6 separate regions of the Homo sapiens genome follow, and regions 1, 2, 3, 4 and 6 are each linked to region 5. Evidence: promoter capture Hi-C in human tissues and cell types (Jung and others, 2019). All regions are on one chromosome and are shown on one strand. Each heading gives the region's core, a stretch centred on a gene start or on the middle of the fragment in contact. The rest is flanking DNA. Distances are from core to core; before and after follow the strand shown.

The links. Contacts are between HindIII fragments. The study calls those that stand out against the background at their distance.
Region 1: the fragment with the promoter of CELF5 here is called in contact with the fragment with the promoter of ZNF555 in region 5 in 5 of the 25 tissues and cell types used here (adrenal gland, dorsolateral prefrontal cortex, mesenchymal stem cells and 2 more).
Region 2: a contact is called between a fragment that was not itself captured here and the fragment with the promoter of ZNF555 in region 5, in 2 of the 25 tissues and cell types used here (H1 embryonic stem cells and bladder).
Region 3: a contact is called between the fragment with the promoter of GNA15 here and the fragment with the promoter of ZNF555 in region 5, in 2 of the 25 tissues and cell types used here (aorta and pancreas).
Region 4: the fragment with the promoter of LMNB2 here is called in contact with the fragment with the promoter of ZNF555 in region 5 in 2 of the 25 tissues and cell types used here (dorsolateral prefrontal cortex and liver).
Region 6: the fragment with the promoter of TIMM13 here is called in contact with the fragment with the promoter of ZNF555 in region 5 in 1 of the 25 tissues and cell types used here (liver).

Annotation. Positions count from the first base shown.
Region 1 is chr19:3,223,383-3,226,082 of GRCh38, reverse strand. It overlaps CELF5 (CUGBP Elav-like family member 5), which reads right to left and starts at 1,422. Exons shown (of 13, transcript NM_021938.4): 1 at 1,085-1,422. The coding sequence starts at 1,343. RefSeq lists a silencer at 1,482-1,601. The HindIII fragment of the contact is 19,492 bases long and covers 1-2,700 here.
Region 2 is chr19:3,204,339-3,207,038 of GRCh38, reverse strand. NCLN (nicalin) reads right to left here. Exons shown (of 15, transcript NM_020170.4): 9 at 2,288-2,466; 10 at 1,013-1,100; 11 at 849-887; 12 at 614-777. Among named protein-coding and RNA genes, the nearest start is that of CELF5, 19 kb to the left of the region's middle. The HindIII fragment of the contact is 5,490 bases long and covers 1-2,700 here.
Region 3 is chr19:3,134,617-3,137,316 of GRCh38, reverse strand. It overlaps GNA15 (G protein subunit alpha 15), which reads right to left and starts at 1,284. Exons shown (of 7, transcript NM_002068.4): 1 at 722-1,284. The coding sequence starts at 866. The HindIII fragment of the contact is 27,733 bases long and covers 1-2,700 here.
Region 4 is chr19:2,455,537-2,458,236 of GRCh38, reverse strand. LMNB2 (lamin B2) reads left to right here and starts at 1,278. Exons shown (of 12, transcript NM_032737.4): 1 at 1,278-1,567. The coding sequence starts at 1,304. RefSeq lists silencers at 1,180-1,359, 1,480-1,729, 1,790-1,879, 2,110-2,289 and an enhancer at 2,550-2,700. The HindIII fragment of the contact is 70,551 bases long and covers 1-2,700 here.
Region 5 is chr19:2,840,182-2,842,881 of GRCh38, reverse strand. It overlaps ZNF555 (zinc finger protein 555), which reads right to left and starts at 1,407. Exons shown (of 4, transcript NM_152791.5): 1 at 1,307-1,407. The coding sequence starts at 1,309. RefSeq lists silencers at 1,027-1,076, 1,117-1,416, 1,637-1,826, 1,837-1,946. The HindIII fragment of the contact is 15,507 bases long and covers 1-2,700 here.
Region 6 is chr19:2,426,336-2,429,035 of GRCh38, reverse strand. It overlaps TIMM13 (translocase of inner mitochondrial membrane 13), which reads left to right and starts at 1,450. Exons shown (of 3, transcript NM_012458.4): 1 at 1,450-1,622; 2 at 1,712-1,780; 3 at 1,990-2,700. The coding sequence starts at 1,503. The coding sequence ends at 2,088. It overlaps LMNB2 (lamin B2), which reads left to right. Exons shown (of 12, transcript NM_032737.4): 12 at 1-870. RefSeq lists enhancers at 980-1,129, 1,214-1,959, 1,960-2,700 and a silencer at 1,680-1,769. The HindIII fragment of the contact is 21,330 bases long and covers 1-2,700 here.

The DNA.
Region 1 (2,700 bases), core at 173-2,672, 380 kb before region 5:
CAACACCTGACCGGAAGGCTGTCAAAGCCACCCCAATTCAGACGCTGGGCCCATGATGGGAACCAAGGGCTGGGGATACAATTGCCGGACACCCCCACCCGGGATGCCATCGGAGGGAGAATCCAGTGGGAGGGAGGCAGACAGGCCTGAGGCCGCCCACGCCTCCCTCCTCCTCCCTGTCCACCCCAGAATTTGGGCTCTGCCCAGATGGACACGTCCAAGCTCATTGTCTTGGGCCTGAGACCCCAACACATTGCTAAGAGGCTCGGCCAGTTTCAACTTGAGCCCAAGGTGGAGGCGGGGGAGGGGGAGGGCAGAGAAATGGAGGAGAGAATGCTGATCCACGCGGAGGTGGTGGGGCCAGGGGGTGGGCAGCGACGGGAGCCTCTCCGCCACCCGAGGCAGGCGAGGCGGGCGCGTCCCCCCGAGCCGGGCGCCCCCAACCCGTCTTCCTTTGTAGTTACCGATTAGCCTGGGGTCCTGGGCATCCGTGTCCCCCGCGGCCGGACCTGCCCCGCCGGCCTGGCTTTGTGAAAATAACCAAAGCAATGGAGTCCGCAGGTGCAAACTTCCCCGACGGGGCCTGGGGAGGCTGAATGAATGGGGGTGGGGGGGCAGGGAGGGGTGCCGGCGTTCCCGAGGCTCCCCTGGCAAACGGGCAGGAAAGAGTGGGGTGAGGGAGGGAGGAAGGGGTGGGGGTCTGGGGGATGGAAGGGTGAGGGAGGGAGGGAGGGAGAGAGAGGGTGCTGTGGGGGGAAGGATGAGAGGTCGAGGGAGATGGGAGAGAAGAGAAAGGGAGAGAGAGAGGGAGAGAGAGAGGGAGAGAGAGAGGAGATGCCGGAAGGTGGGGAGGGAGGGAGAGGGGGCGGAGGAGGGGAGGGGGCCCGCTCGGATCTGTCAGCTGCACCCCCAGAGAGGGGAGGAGGGGTGGGTGGGAGGGAGGGGGTAAGAACCGATGCTCCGGCAGAGGCAGGCAGAGGAGGGAGGTGAGCAGAGGAGGGATGGTGATGGGGGAGAGAAGATGCCGGAAGGTGGGGTGGGAGGCGGAGGGAGGGGGAGAGGGGGGAGGGGGCCGGGCGCCCACCTTTGTGCATCCCCGTGTAGGGGTCTTTGAGCACCGTGAGCTCGTAGATGCGGCCGAACTGCTCGAAGAGCGGCTTGAGGTCCTTCTCGTCCAGGTGCCGCGGGATCTGGCCCACGAAGAGTTTGATGGCGTCCAGGTCCTTCATGCCGTCGGGCTGCCCCCCGGGGGGCTCGGGCCCGCTGCTGCCCACGGGCGAGGGCCGCGGCTGCAGGAGCTGCTGCTGCTGCCGGCGCGCCTCGCTCTCCGTCAGGCGGGCCATGGCGGGCGCGGGACCGAGCCGGCGGCGGCGGCGGCGGGCGGCGGGCGGACTCGCAGCTGGAGCGGCGGCCGCGCCTCCCGCCTCCCTCCCGGGCCCCCGCGCCCTCCTCCCGCCCGCGCCCGCCCCGGCATCGGGACCACAAAGGCGGCTCCGCAGCGGCCCCTGGCGGCCGCGCCGCGCGGGGCAGCCGGCGCCTCCCCGCATCCCCGGGCCGCGGGGGGAAACTGAGGCCGGAAGGCCCCGGGCCCCGCCTACGGGTGGGCGAGGGCGGAGCTGCGGGCGGGACGGGCCTTAGCCGGCTTCCCAGGGGTCCCCGCCGGCTCCCGCGGAGGGCATCGGCCGGAAGAATGTCAAAAGTTGCTGGGATAATGTAGGGGGCTTGTCGTTGAAAGCGCCCGTGATCCTTAAAGTAGGTAACTCATCAATAATATTAATAACACTAATAATATGGCTGGGCGCGGTGGCTCACGCCTGTCATCTCAGCACTTTGGGAGGCCGAGGTGGGTGGATCACTTGAGGTCAGGAGTTCGAGACCAGACTGGCTAACACGGTGAAACCCCGTCTCTACTAAAGAATACAAAAATTAGCTGGGCTCGGTGGCGGGGGGTGCCTGTAATCCCAGCTACTCGGGAGGCTGAGGCAGGATAATCACTTGAACCCAGGAGGCGGAGGTTGCAGTGAGCCAAGATTGTGCCATTGTACTCCAGCCTGGGCAACAAGAGCAAAACTCCGTCTTGGTAAAAAAAAAAAAAAAAAACACCTAATAATAACAACACTAATAATAATTAATCAAGAGCAAGACAAAGTGCTCCCACTAATCACGACAGCACAGGAGAAATGGTAAAAGTATCTTCCAGTTCTATAGGGTGCTTACACATAGAAAGTGTCCTTGGCCCTTTAAGTATGTAACTCATCAATAATGTCATCAACAAGGAGGGAGACTGGCTCGCACTGATAATGACAGGATAGGAGAAATACTGAAGTATCTCCCAGCTCTAAAGTGCCCGTGATCCTTTACGTATGAAACTCATCAATAATATTAATAAAAATAATAATACGTGCTGGCCGTGGTGGCTCACACCTGTAATCCCAGCACTTTGAGAAGCAGAGTCAGGAGGACCACTTGAGCCCAGGAGTTGGAGACCAGCCTGAGCAACATAGTGAGACGCCATTGCTGTAAAAAATAAGAAAACAGGCCAGGCACGATGGCTCACACCTGTAATCCCAGCACTTTGGGAGGCTGAGGCAGGTGGATCACCTGAGATCAGGAGTTCGAGACCAGCCTGATCAACATGGAGAAAACTCTGTCTCTACTAAAAACACAAAAATTAGCCAGGCATGGTTGTGCATGCCTGTA
Region 2 (2,700 bases), core at 1-2,500, 360 kb before region 5:
CAACCTGGCCAACACGGTGAAACCCCATCTCTACTAAAAATTAAAAAAAATTAGCCGGGCATGGTGGCGGGTGCCTGTAATCCCAGCTACTCAGGAGACCGAGGTCCGAGAATCACTTGAAGCCGGGAGATGGAGGCTGTAGTGAGACAAGATCACGCCACTGCACTCCAGCCTGGGTGACAGAGGAAGACTCCATCTCAAAGACAAATAAATAAAAACTTTAAAAAGTTTGTAGAGATGGGGTCTTGCTATGTTGCCCAGGTTGGTCTCCAACTCCTGGGTTCAAGCGATTCTTCCGTCCCGGCCTCCTAAGTAGCTGGGATTACAGGTGCCCACTGCCACATCCGCCTAATTTTTGTATTTTTAGTAGGGATGAGGTTTCACTATGTTGGCCAGTCTGGTCTTGAACTCCTGACCTCAAGTGATCCACCTGCCTCGGATTCCCAAAGTACTGGGATTGCAGGCACAGCCGCCGTGTCCGGCCCTCATCCCACCCTCTCTTTGTATTTGCTCCACCTGGCATCCCCCAGGGGTGAGGGGGTGGGAGATGCAGTAGGGGGAGGTCCCCCTCGGCCCCAGGCTGAACGGGGCCAGCGCGGAGCCCCAGCCTCACCGCTTGTCAGCCTTGACGTGGTGCTGCTTCACGTCCTTCAGGTAGCGGCTCAGGTGGTGCTCCAGCGTGCTGAGGAAGGTGCTGTCCTTGTCCACCAGCTGCGCGGCCCGCGGCTGGTTGGTGAGCCAGTCCATCACCGAGTCCAGCTGCTCCTGCTGGATCTGCTGTAGGGACGGTGGTGGTAGTCATGGCCTGGCCCCGCCCACCCACCCACCCACTGGCCTGGCCCCCTTACCATCTGCTCTGTGAACACCGGCATGTCTGGGGGTGTCCCCTGCGGAGAGAGGAGGGGATGGCCCTGAGTCCAGGCCCCTGCAGTGGGGCTGGGGCCAGGGGTGGGGCCGGGGCCGGGGGCAGGGCTGGGGCTGGGTCTGGCGGCACAGAGGGCTCAGGGCTCACCTTCTCTGTCAGGTTGTAGATGACTCGAGTCAGGGCCTCTGCAATGATCCTCGTGTTACGGGTCAGGGTCTTAGAATCCACCCGGGACCTTCACGATTCAAAAACAATGTTTTAAAATGTGGACTTTGGGCCAGGCAAGGTAGCTCTCACACTTGTAATCCCAGCACTCCAGCCTAGGAGACCGTGAGACTCTGTCTTTAAAAAAAAAAAAAAATTAAGCTTAGCTTTAACTACTTGGCTAACATGTAGATGCAGATTCACTGGGGGCCCCACACCTCCAGGCCCCTTGCCCTGACCCGTCCCTGTGCGCAGGTAAGGCTCACGCCCTGAGGCCTTGGTTCCTTCTGACTCGGTTTTCTGCTCTTCCAGAATTTAAACTGGACTATTCCGTCCTGGTGGAAGAATCCATTCTGGGACCCTCTGCAAATCCCAGGTGGCCCTCCTGGGCTGACCCCTGGTGGTCTTGAGAGAGCTCAGCACAGCTGGGACAGCCGTGCACCCACCCTCATTTCCTGGCAATCTTTCCTGGCTGGTGGGCGACCGCCACCTCCATCCTTTCCAGGACTGCGATTACCCAGGGATGTGCCCCTCCCTCCCGCCACTGGCTTCTGCAGGCCTCCGATGGCTGAGCTCAAACCACTCCTGAGGGCCCAGTGACCGCAGAGCAGAGTGGATGAACGGGAAGGATCTATGCCGGGACTGCGGGCGCTGGGGGAGGAGACGGCGCCCACCTGCTGGTGCCAGGACTGGCCAGGAGTGTGCCTGGGGTGGCCAGACAGTTCCAGGCTCCACAAAAGCCTGCCCAGGGGCTCACATGATGGCAGAGAGACGGGCAGGACACAGGGTCAGAGGACATAAGAAGCCAGAGACACAGTGCCCAGAGGGAGGCGGGGCGAGGAAGGGCCGGGGTGTGGTGGCGGGCCAGGCTCCCCAAGACGGTGGCCGGGGCCAGGCAGGACTTTCGGGCTGTGGCAGGGCCCTGAAGAGGCCCAGAGGCAGGAGCTGCTTGCTCCTAACTCAACAGGTGACGGGGTCTGGGGGTCCTATATGGGGCCACGACCTCAGGCTGCTGGCCTCGCCCTCCCTAGCCCCAGTAAGGAAGAGCTTGCGAACGGCCTGACCGTGCAGCCGGCCTTGGCCACGCACCGGCCCCTTCCTCGCAGCCTGTGTGTGGGGGCCGCTCCCTCCAGGCTCTCATGGCCTCTGCAGTTGCGACCAGTGGCTCAGCCCCCAGGAAAGCCCTAGGAGGGGCCGGGCAGGTGCTGCCGCGCTCACCGCACGTCCATGATGCTGCTGCGCTGGCCGTCACGGTGGCTCTCCAGGTGGGACAGCGTGAAGGCGGGCAGTCGGCGGATGGCGAAGCGCTCGTGCTCCCAGGCCAGCACGTCCTCCGCCAGGTTGATCCGCTTGTGCACCATGGAGAACCGTACCTCAGGGAACTGGTGCGCGGCCACCTGCAGCCGGAGGCGCCATTAGCAGAGGGCAGGCGGGGATGGCGGCCACCCCAGCCCATTCCCCAAATGCTCCAGGGGCCTCCCAGAACCCCCGAGGGTGCAAAATGAGGAGAAATCCACCTGCCCCCGGGGTCCCCCTAAGGCCTGCTGGAGCCCCGGCGGGCAATGAGCAGTGGGTAAGGAGGGACAAGGGGACACTCTGGGACAGGACACCCCAGCCCGGCCCTGACGCAG
Region 3 (2,700 bases), core at 35-2,534, 290 kb before region 5:
GCCTCCGCATGGAAGCCATCACCCTGTTTTGTTTTCTCCTAGATAATTCTTGTTGCCAGAATTATTTTATCTGCTTATGAGTTTACAGACTAAATGTCTTGGCTCCTTCACAGGAAATGAGATCCAGGAAGACAGAAATATCTTCCCCTGTTTGGCTGCCTCGTTCCTGGGAGCTACCCAATAAATCTTAAATGAATGAATAATGAATGAATGAACCAATGAACCAATCAATCCATCCTTTCTAGCCCCCAAAGGAGCCCTAGACAAGCCCTCTCCAGCCATGGCAGGGAGGTAAAGGCGAGAGGGAGCGTCCTGGTGAAGGAGAGGCTGGAGCCGGCCCCTCCCTTACGGGTGGGCTGGCCAGAACGGGTTGCACACCTGAGCTCATCATTCCCTCGCCATGACACAGACAGGTAGGGCGTGCTGGGCCTGCCCGGCAGGGGCCCGGTAGAGCCACGTCTGCTATTGTATATGCCCCACACAGTGGACAGGCCTGGGCACCTGGCCGCTGGTCGCACGTTGGACAAGGAACTTGGCTTCTCTGAACCTCAGTCTTTCTCATCTGGAAAATGGGTTCCAGGCTCCCCATTCCCTGGGAGGAGGCGACGGCTCCACGATGCCAATGTCTGACCTAGCCTGATCCGCCTCCTTGCCCCGACACCCCTGCCGGCTGGCCACCGCCCACTGCCCACCACCCACCGCCCACCGACCCTGGACTCACCCAAAAGCAGCAGCTTCAGCTCCCCGCGGTCCTGCTTCTTCTGCTCCAAGAGGATCCTGTTGATCTCCTGGTCCACCCGGGCGGCGGCCTTCTCATCCTCCGTCAGGCACCAGGGGCAGCAGCGCCAGGTCAGCGAGCGGGCCATGGTGCGGTGGCCTCAGTCGGCACCGGGTGGCATCGCCCCCGGGCCCCTGCTGGCCAGGGCAACCCCCAGCCCAGCCGGCCCTGGAGAGGGCTCCGGGCAACCGGGTGCGCAGGGAGGCTGCCTTTTCCTTGGGGGTCACCCCCCAGGGACCTAGACTTCCTTGCCTGAAACACCCAGGAAGCCCGGCTCGGCGGTGGCAAGGCTTGAGTGCTGGGAACAGGGTGGGGACGGGAGGAGGTGGGGAGGCCAGGGCTCCCCGCCCACCTCCAGACCTGCTCAGACCCGGCCCGACAGGTTGACGGTGAAGGGTGCCAGGAGAGGGTGAGGTGGGGGCCCCAGGGAGGGCGGGGCGGTGGCGGGAAAACCCCCACCGCAGACTGGGTCCTGTGTGACCAGCAGGGCCCTTCTTCCTCCTTCTGGAGAAGGGGCGGATTCTCCTCAGGCTTCACCCGGAGCTGTCCCCCTCCTCGGAGCCAATCAGGAACCGTCAGACCCGTGCTACTGCTGATACATTATATATATATCATATATATATGTGTGTGTATATATATATATGTGTATATATATATATATATATATATATATATATATATATATATATATATATTTTTTTTTTTTTTTTTGAGACAGAGTTTCACTCTTATTGCCCAGGCTGGAGTGCAGTGGCAGGATCTTGACTCTGCAACATCTGCCTCCCAGGTTCAAGCAATTCTCCTGCCTCAGCCTCTCGAGTAGCTGGGATTACAGGCATCCACCACCACGCCGGGCTAACTTTGGATTTTTAGTAGAGAAAGGGTTCCACCACGTTGGCCAGGCTGGTCTCAAACTCCTGACCTCAGGTGATCCACCCGCCTCGGCCTCCCAAAGTGCTGGGATTGCAGGCATAAACCACCACGCTCGGCCCTTCTGATATATTTTTAAGAAACAGCTCAGGCCAGGTGTCATGGACTGTTTCCAGCGACTCTGCCCTGACCTCAGGTGATCCACCCTGCAGAGGTGGGCAGCTTGCCTGAGGTCAGGAGTTCGAAACCAGCCTGGCCAACATGGCGAAACCCTGTCTCTACTAAAGATACAAAAATTAGCCGGGTTTTGGCTCACATTAGCTGGTTTTACACTCACATCACCCTGTATAGTTACTACTGTCATCCCTGTTTGACTGATGAGGAGGTTGAGGCATAGAGCAGGGGAGTGACCGGTGGGGCTGGCACAAGGCAGAGCCGGGAGCCTATCCCTCACCTGCGGGGCCCCAGAGTCTAGACGCCTACCAGGCAGATTCCAGGCAGGGCCATCCCTTCATTGTGCGTGCATTCATGGAGCGCCAACTGTGTGCCAGGCACGGTAGCCAAGAGACACAGATCCCAGACCTCCTTACCTAAGGTTCTAGTTAAAGAACAGATAATAAAATAAATTTTAGGCTGGGCCTGGTGGCTCACGCATGTAATCCCTATACTTTGGGAGGCCAAGGCGGGCAGATCACAAAGTCAAGAAATCGAGACCAGCCTGGCCAACACGGCGAAACCCCGTCTCTACTAAAAATACAAAAATTAGCCGGGCGTGGTGGTGCACGCCTGTAGTCCCACCTACTTGGGAGGCTGAGGCAAGAGAATCGCTTGAACCCGGGAGGCAGAGGTGGCAGTGAGCTGAGATCGTGCCACTGCACTCCAGCCTGGCGACGAAGTGAGACTCCATCTCAAAAAAAATAAAAAATAAAAGAATAAAAAATTTGGCCAGGTGAGTGCGGGAGCTCACATCTGTAATCAAAGTACTTTGGGAGGCCGAGGCAGGAGGATCACTTGAAGTCAGGAGTTTGAGACCAGCCTGGCCAACATGGAGA
Region 4 (2,700 bases), core at 29-2,528, 380 kb after region 5:
CTCCCAAATACCTAGGACTATAGGCGCCCAGCTAATTTTTTTTTTTTTTTTTTTTTGAGGTGGAGTCTTACTCTGTTGCCTAGGCTGGAGTGCAGTGGTTCAATCTTGGCTCCCTGCAACCTCCGCCTCCCGGGTTAAAGCAATTCTCCTGCCTCAGCTTCCCGAGTAGCTGAGACTACAGGCATGTGCCACCATGCCTGGCTAATTTTTGTATTTTTAGTAGAGACGGGATTTCACCATATTGGTCAGGCTGGTCTCGAACTCCTGACCTCATGATCTGCCCGGCTTGGCCTCCTAAAGTGCTGGGAATACAGGTGTGAGCCACTGCACCTGGCTAATTTTTTTATTTTTATTTTTAGAAATGGGGTCTTGCTATGTTGCCCAGGCCAGTCTCAAACTCCTGGGCTCAGGCTATCCTCCCACCTCCGCCTCCCAAAGTGCTGGCATTACAGGCGTGAGCAAACCACTGTACCTGGCCTGGCTTTTATTTTAATTCTTATTTCTCCTTTCTTCAGCCTTTTCTGCCTGTAATGCAGAATGCCCATCCTCTCTGCTCAGCTCATTGGAGTGCCTATTTAATAGATTGAATGCTATCCAATTCATGAATTGCTAATAAGAGCCAATGAGATCATTAAACTCAATTTGTTGAAATTCATACTCCTTGACAGCCTCTTCTGGACATTTTATATCAGTGGCATTGTACACTATATGGCTTTTTTTTTTTTTTTTTTTTTTTTTTGAGACAAAGTTTCTCATTGTTGCCCAGGCTGGAGTGCAGTGCCGCGATCTTGGCTTACTGCAACCTCCACGTCCCAAGTTCAAGAGATTCTCCTGCCTCAGCCTCCCAAGTAGCTGGGATTACCGGCGCGCGCCTCCGTAGTAGAGATGGTGTGGGGGGGTCTCCCTATGTGGTCCAGGCTGATCTCGAAATTCTTTTCTCAAGTGATCCACCGGCCTTGGCCTCCCAAAGTGCTGGGATTACAGGCGTGAGCCACCACGCCCGGCCCTATATGGCCTTTTGTGTCTGGTTCTTTGAACACGTTTTGAGGTTCTCTAAGTGGGGAAACAGGTACTAGAAAGCAACCCAACGCTGTTTCCTCGTGGCGGAGCTGGGAGTTTGCAGCCAGGAAGTCTGTCTCTGGAGTCAGCGCCTCTGCGAAGCGAGAGCTGGACGGAGACTTCAACTTCCGGCGTGCCCCGCGCGCGCCCGGCGGTCGGACTACCAGTCCCAGGCTGCCCCGCCGCGGCGGGCGGCGGGCGCGGCGCGGCGCGGCGCCATCTTGCAGCCGGCGGCGCGGATTGAATGAGCCCGCCGAGCCCGGGCCGCCGTCGGGAGCAGCGCAGGCCGCGAGCCGCCGCCACCATGGCCACGCCGCTGCCCGGCCGCGCGGGCGGGCCCGCCACGCCGCTGTCGCCCACGCGCCTGTCGCGGCTGCAGGAGAAGGAGGAGCTGCGCGAGCTCAACGACCGCCTGGCGCACTACATCGACCGCGTCCGCGCGCTGGAGCTGGAGAACGACCGGCTCCTGCTCAAGATCTCAGAGAAGGAGGAGGTGACCACGCGCGAGGTGGGCGCCGGGGCTTAGGGGCCGGGCGGGGGTGCAGCCGGCAGGCCCCGCCCACCGCGGGGCGCGCGATCGCGGGGACCCTGGGCGGGGGTGCAGACGGGGACGGGCCCCGGCTTCGGGGGTTTCCGCGGGGTTTCGGGGGGCCCCTGAGTGAGGGGTGCAGCTCGGCCAGGTCCCTCCCACCGCGGGGTGGGCAATCGCTGGGACCCTGGGTGCAGACAGGGACGGGCCCGGGTCTCGAGGGTCTCCAGGGGGTTTCGAGGGGCCCCTGAGTGAGCGGTGCAGTTCGGCCAGGCCCCGCCCACCGCGGGGTGCGTGATCGCGGGGACCCTGGGCGGGGGTGCAGACGGGGACAGGCTCCGGCTCGGGGGTCTCCAGGAGGTTTGGGGGCTTCTGAGTGAGGGGTGCTGCTCGGCTAGGCCCAGCCCACTGCGGGGCTCCCAGTCGCGGGGAACCCTGAGCTGGGATGCAGACGGGGACAGTCCGGCCTCGGGGATCTCCGCCGCGTTTCGGAGAGTCCCTGAGTGAAAGGTGCTACTCGGCCAGGCCCCGCCCACCACGGGGCGCGCGATCGCGGGGGACTCTGAACGACTCCCGGCTTGGGGTCTCCAGGGGGTTTGCGGGGGGCTCCTGGATGAAGGGTGCAGGTCCTGGCCACCGCGGGGTGCGCGATCGCGGGGACCCTGGGCAGGGGTGCAGACCGGGAAGGGTCCCGGCTTGGGGGTCTCCAGGGGGTTTCAAGGGGTCCCTGAGTGAGGGGTGCAGCTCGGCCAGGCCCAGCCCACCGCGGAGTACGCGATCACGGGGGACCCTGAGCAGGGGTGGGGTCAGCCTGGCCTCGGGGATCTCCAGGGGGAGACCCTGAGTGAGGGGTGCCACCTGGGCAGGCCCTGCCCACCGCAGTTTCCGAGATCTTGGGGGACCCCTTGGGAGGGGTGCAGACCGGAGTGGCCCATTCTCTTGGGGACCTCCAGGGGGTTTCTAGGGCACTGAGTGAAAAGTGCAGACCAGGAATGCCCCACCTATGGAGGGGGTCCCAGGAGATCTTCCGTGTCCTGAGTGAGGGCTGCAGAGGGGCCTCCAGCTAGCTCTGGGGACCCTTCCGTGAGAGGTGCATTTTGGGGCCATGGGGG
Region 5 (2,700 bases), core at 158-2,657:
TAGCAGAGACGGGGTTTCTCCATGTTGGCCAGGCTGGTCCCCAACTCCTGACCTCAAGTAATCTGCTCCCCTCGGCCTGTCACAGTGCTGGGATGACAGGCTTGAGCCACCGCGCCCGGCCTGGAAATATTTTATCTTCCAACTTCTACTAATTAAATGTACGTTTCACTTCCTAAAAACTGCTGACTCGAAAAAAGGAAAATCTTTTCACAGTGACAAACCCAGGGAGGGGTCAAGTCTGGCCAGGCTACCACGACGGACGCCCTCCCACCCCCAACTCAGGTGTTGCCTCAGCAAGGAATCCCATTGCTAGTACTCAAAACAGAACTGAGAAACGTCTTCAAATCCACACTTTCTAGGGAACCGTGAAAGAATATATTTCCGTGGTTTTAGCCCCCTCGTTTGCAGTCAGTTGCTACAGCAGTCCGAGGACACTAATGCACCAGCCTCCCGGGCGTCCCCGCTGTGGGTCTGCGTGCGTTTGCTTTTGGGGTCCTCGCTCTCCCTTGTTTCTCTAGTCTTTTCAGTTACTTTTCTTCCTTGTGTGTGAGAGCCCAGGGACCAGGAACCCTTGTTTTTTTTCCCCTTACCTACCCCAGGCATCTTGGGGTCAGAGGGGACAAGAAGTCCTCAAGAAGGAAAACCGGGACTCAGGGGAGGAAACCTCGCACGCCCCAGGGGCTGCCTTTGCAGGTGGGGGCGTCTCCGCCCCCGCCGAGGCCCCACCGCTCCCGGGCTGTCCCGGGAGGAACCCAGGGTCCCCCAGAGACCGCGGCCGGAGGCGCGGGGCCTCCAAGGAGCTGAGCCGCGGGAGCGCGAGCGGAGGCGGCACCGACCAGGGACCCGCACCCCAGGAGGCACCGCGGCGTCGGCCCCAGGGCGGGTCCCGGGGGAGCCTGGACCGCACCTCGGGGTCTCGGGCGACTCTGCCTCCCGCGGCCCGGGGGTCCCGAAGCCGCAGCGAAACGCTCCGAGGCGTCGCGGCCCCGGGCGGGGCGTGGGGGGTCGGGAGCGCAGGGACGCGGGGACCCCGGGACGACGGGGACGGAGTCGGGCTCCGGGCGCCGCTCCCCGCTCTGCAGCCTTGGGGCCAGAGGCGGGCGGGGACCCGGAGCTCGGAGCGCCCTAGCCGCGACCTCAGCGCGGGAGGCGGGGCCGGGCGGGACCCCCGGGGCCCAGGCTCCCGTCCTGCGCCGCCCTCGCCGGGGCCGCCCCCCGCGTCCCTCAGCTCCCCCCAAGCCGCGGTCTCGGGCGGTCGCCGGTTCCTGCTGCCCCGCACCGGGATCCTCTCCTGCGCCACACTCACCATGTCCCGGGGCGATTTCTTCGCTACCGGCGCAGGTGAGCGCGACAGGAACCGGGACGCCAGGGACCGCTAGGGGCAGGCGGGGCACTCACGGCTAGGACAGAGGCGTCCCGTCCCAGGGGCCTGATTAGACAGAGCTCGGGAAGCCGCGCTTCTGATTGGACAGTGCTGCCAACGTCGGCGACTCTGATTGGAGAATTCCCCAGTCCGTCCCCTGGCGCTGTAAATTGGGCAGTTCCCCGGATTCCGATTGGGCGTCCCTCATTGGATACTTGTCTCGGCCCCGCCCCCGCCCGTCCTGACTGGGTAGTTCCCTAGGGCCCACCCCCTGCCGGTGAGTGACGGGAGCGTTGCGAACACGCGTGGCTGTCCCGCCCTGCGGGGACACTGGCTTCTGGGCGAACTGGTTTCAGCCCGGGGCGGAATCGCCCTCTCCCCGCAGTTCGGGCGCCCCGCCCGCGTCCTCCTCCGGGACGGGCGTGGGAACTCCAGACTAGTTTCCTCACGAGGCGACCCCTTGTCCGGACAGGAGGTGGATGCAAGCGGGCGGCCCGGGCCTGGCAGGGCGAACGGGGGCTGGGCGCCGGGTCCGAAGGGCCGAGACCTACGTGGGGGCGGGACCCGCAGACGTGACGTCATCGCGCTGCGGGCGACATGGAGACCCCGCCCAGGGGGCTGCGAATCCGGAGACCCGGTCTGGGGGAGGCCGAACCCAAAGCCTGGCAGGGGGCAGGAGCTTTGCTCAAATCAACCAGAAGATATGAGATGTTCATTAAAACCCTCACATTTGGCTGGGCGCAGTGGCTCACGCCTGTAATCCCAGCACTTTGGGAGACCGAGGTGGACGGATCATCTGAGTTCAGGAGTTTGAGACCATCGTGGCCAATATGGTGAAACCCTTTCTCTACTAAAAATACAGAAATCAGCCCGGCGTGGTGCCGGGCGCCTGTAATCTCAGCTACTGGGGATGCTGGGGCAGGAGAATTGCTTGAACCCGAGAGGTGGAGGTTGTAGTGACCCGAGATCGCCCCACTGCAGTCTAGCCTGGGCGACAGAGTGAGACTCCATATTAAAAAACAAAAAAACTCTCAAGTTCATATTTTAAACTCTAAGGAAAATGTTTTCAGATCATTTTTTTAAGTACATCCCCCCAAAATTTGGAAGATTGAAAAGCTGGCCGGGCGCTGTGGCTCACGCCTGTAATCCCAGCACTTTGGGAGGCCGAGGCGGGCGGATCACCTGAGGTCAGGAGTTCAAGACCAGCCTGCCCAACATGGCAAAACCCTGTCTCTACTAAAAATACAAAATTAGCCGGGCGTGGTGGCGCGCACCTGTAATCCCAGCTAGGGAGGCTGAGGCAAGAGAATCGCTTGAGGCCGGGCACGGTGGCTCAC
Region 6 (2,700 bases), core at 201-2,700, 410 kb after region 5:
CAGGGACAAAGTCCCCCCCAAAACCCGCAGGTCCTCATGTCCAGACGCTGCCCAGTCCTGTCCTGAAAACAGCACGCCCCAGGCCCACAGAACCCCCCACCCTACATTTGCCTTGGGTGGAGCTGGGGGTGGTCCTAGGACTGCGGGTGCCCTTAGCTGAAGGGGGTGGGGAGAAGCGTGGACTGGGCAGCCTGTGGGTAATTGGAGGTTCATTGAGAATTGAGTCTTTGGAAACACTAAGAAAATCAAATTTTTAAAAGTTATTTATGGCCTGGGAAACAATTTGCATTTGTCCCCAAATACGCTTAGCTGTGTGCCGCTTAGAACGATGCGAAACCATCCCTCTGTGTAAGCCCGTGCCGTGTGACTCGAAGCCTAGCGCCCTCCCTGCGAAGCATCAGACGCCACCCAGCCCTGGGGGGAGGCCCACGCCTGCTGGACCAACGCGGGTTCTGGGGTGCACAGCGCCAGGTTAACGCTGAAGCCTGCCCCGCTGAGCCCAGGAGCCGGGAGGCCTGCGGGCTGACCCAGAATCCGATCATGCACCTGTCCTCATGCCAGCGGCTTTGGCTGGGGTTGGTCTGAAGCCTGCACGCGGCAGTTCTTTGTTAAAGATCTGAGGGACTCCTCAGTCCTGGGGCGTCGCCGCCTGCAGCCTCTTCCAAGCCCTGCGTCCAGCGAGCGTCACAGCACAACCTGCAAAAACGGAGCTGGGCTGCAGCTGGGGCTGGCATGGACTTTCATTTCAGAGATTCGGTTTTTAAGAAGATGCATGCCTAATGTGTTCTTTTTTTTTTCCAATGATTTGTAATATACATTTTATGACTGGAAACTTTTTTGTACAACACTCCAATAAACATTTTGATTTTAGGTTCTGCCTCTGAGTTTATTCCTGAGGGGAAGCTCGAGCCGGGGCCTCTGCCCTAATGAAGCGGATGTCTAAGAAAGATCCCTCCACCCCCAAGGAAAAAGGTCACTGGCTAGTGTAGCTAGTGTAAACAGGACCCAGGCGATGCATGGGACCCTGCCCTTTTTTTTCTAGTGAGCCTCCGACGCTGTTGCACAAGCTGACTCTTCGTCACGTGATGCGACCGGGCTCCGCCCCGGCGGCAACACGCTGTATAGACGCGCCGGGTGCCTCGTGCGCATGCGCGGCAGGCCCTTCGGGACGAGCTGGAGGCAGAGCGTGAGTACAAAGTGATCGGCCTCGGCCGCACGTAGTAGCCCCCCTACTCCCCGGCCAAGTCAGGGCCTCCCTCTTCCCGCGGAGTCGCAACCACGGGTAGCTCGTGTAGGTAACGGCAGGTCCAGGCCTCCGCATGAGCGGAGGGCCCCCCGCGCGACCTTGAATGGCCCGGGCGCGCGCGGTCGTGTGGGAGTTGTAGTCCTCCGTCCCCGTCCGCGCGGACTCCGTTTCCCGTGGTGCCCCGGGCGGCCCGCTTCCGGCGCAGTTAGTTACGAGTCGGCGCACGCGGCCTCGGTCCGGTTGACTTTGCGGAGCCATGGAGGGCGGCTTCGGCTCCGATTTCGGGGGCTCCGGCAGCGGGAAGCTGGACCCAGGGCTCATAATGGAGCAGGTGAAAGTGCAGATCGCCGTGGCCAACGCGCAGGAGCTGCTGCAGGTGCGGGGCTGGCCGGGGACGGGCGCTGGGGGCGACAGGGCCACCCCTGGGGGCCGACGTCGCGGCTAAAGCCTCGCGTGTCTCCACAGAGGATGACGGACAAGTGTTTCCGGAAGTGTATAGGGAAACCTGGGGGCTCCCTGGACAACTCCGAGCAGGTGAGACCCGCGGAGGTTCGGGGCAAGGGTCGCGAGGGCCTAGATTCGAGGGGGGAGGTGTCTGCGCGTGCGCAGACTAACGGGGAGGTGCGACGGAGTGGTCACTGCACGTGCGTAGTCTGCAGCCCGGGCGTCCTGGAGCCGGGGTCAGGGCGGTCCCCGGGGCCGCGAAGTCCCGAGCTGAGCCGTGCGCCCCTCCGCTCCCGCAGAAGTGCATCGCCATGTGCATGGACCGCTACATGGACGCCTGGAACACCGTGTCTCGCGCCTACAACTCGCGGCTGCAGCGGGAACGAGCCAACATGTGACCGGCGAGCGCGGGCCACCCCACCCTGTTCATTTCCATAAACGTGCTTTGAGAGGCGGGGTCCGCATGTACGTACTGCCTGCCCGGGGCTTAGGAGGGTGGCACCGGTGCTGGGACACACGGGACTGTGTCCTCGCCACCCCCCGCCCTGCCCCCTGCCAGCCAGTGCAGCTTGGATCTCGGGGGTGTGGGGCCCTGTGCCTTCCTGAAGTGCTGGCAGCCCAGTGGCACCTCCTTCAGGCCTTTGGGGTATTCCCCTAGTGTGCCCAAGTCAGCCTCATATTCTGGGCGGACAGCTTGTCTGGACTTCGGAGTTGGGGGTGGTCAGACACCACAGGAGCTGTCACCTCCTGCGGATGGGCAAATAAATTGGTGGAGGACGGAGAGAAACCTCTTTATTTCCCTCCTGAGGGGTCTCTGGGAAGAGGTGACGCGTGTCCCTGGAACCCCAGCTCGGAGGGTCTCAGCCTCCCCTGGGTTGGGAGAAGTCCATCTTTCCCCTTAGTGCCACCGGGCTGCTGAGTCACGAGGAATGTGTTGCTGCTGCCACCCCTGCCCCAAAGGCTAAGGGGGACAGCCTTCCCCTTGTCAGGGCTTGCTTTGACCCTGCTTC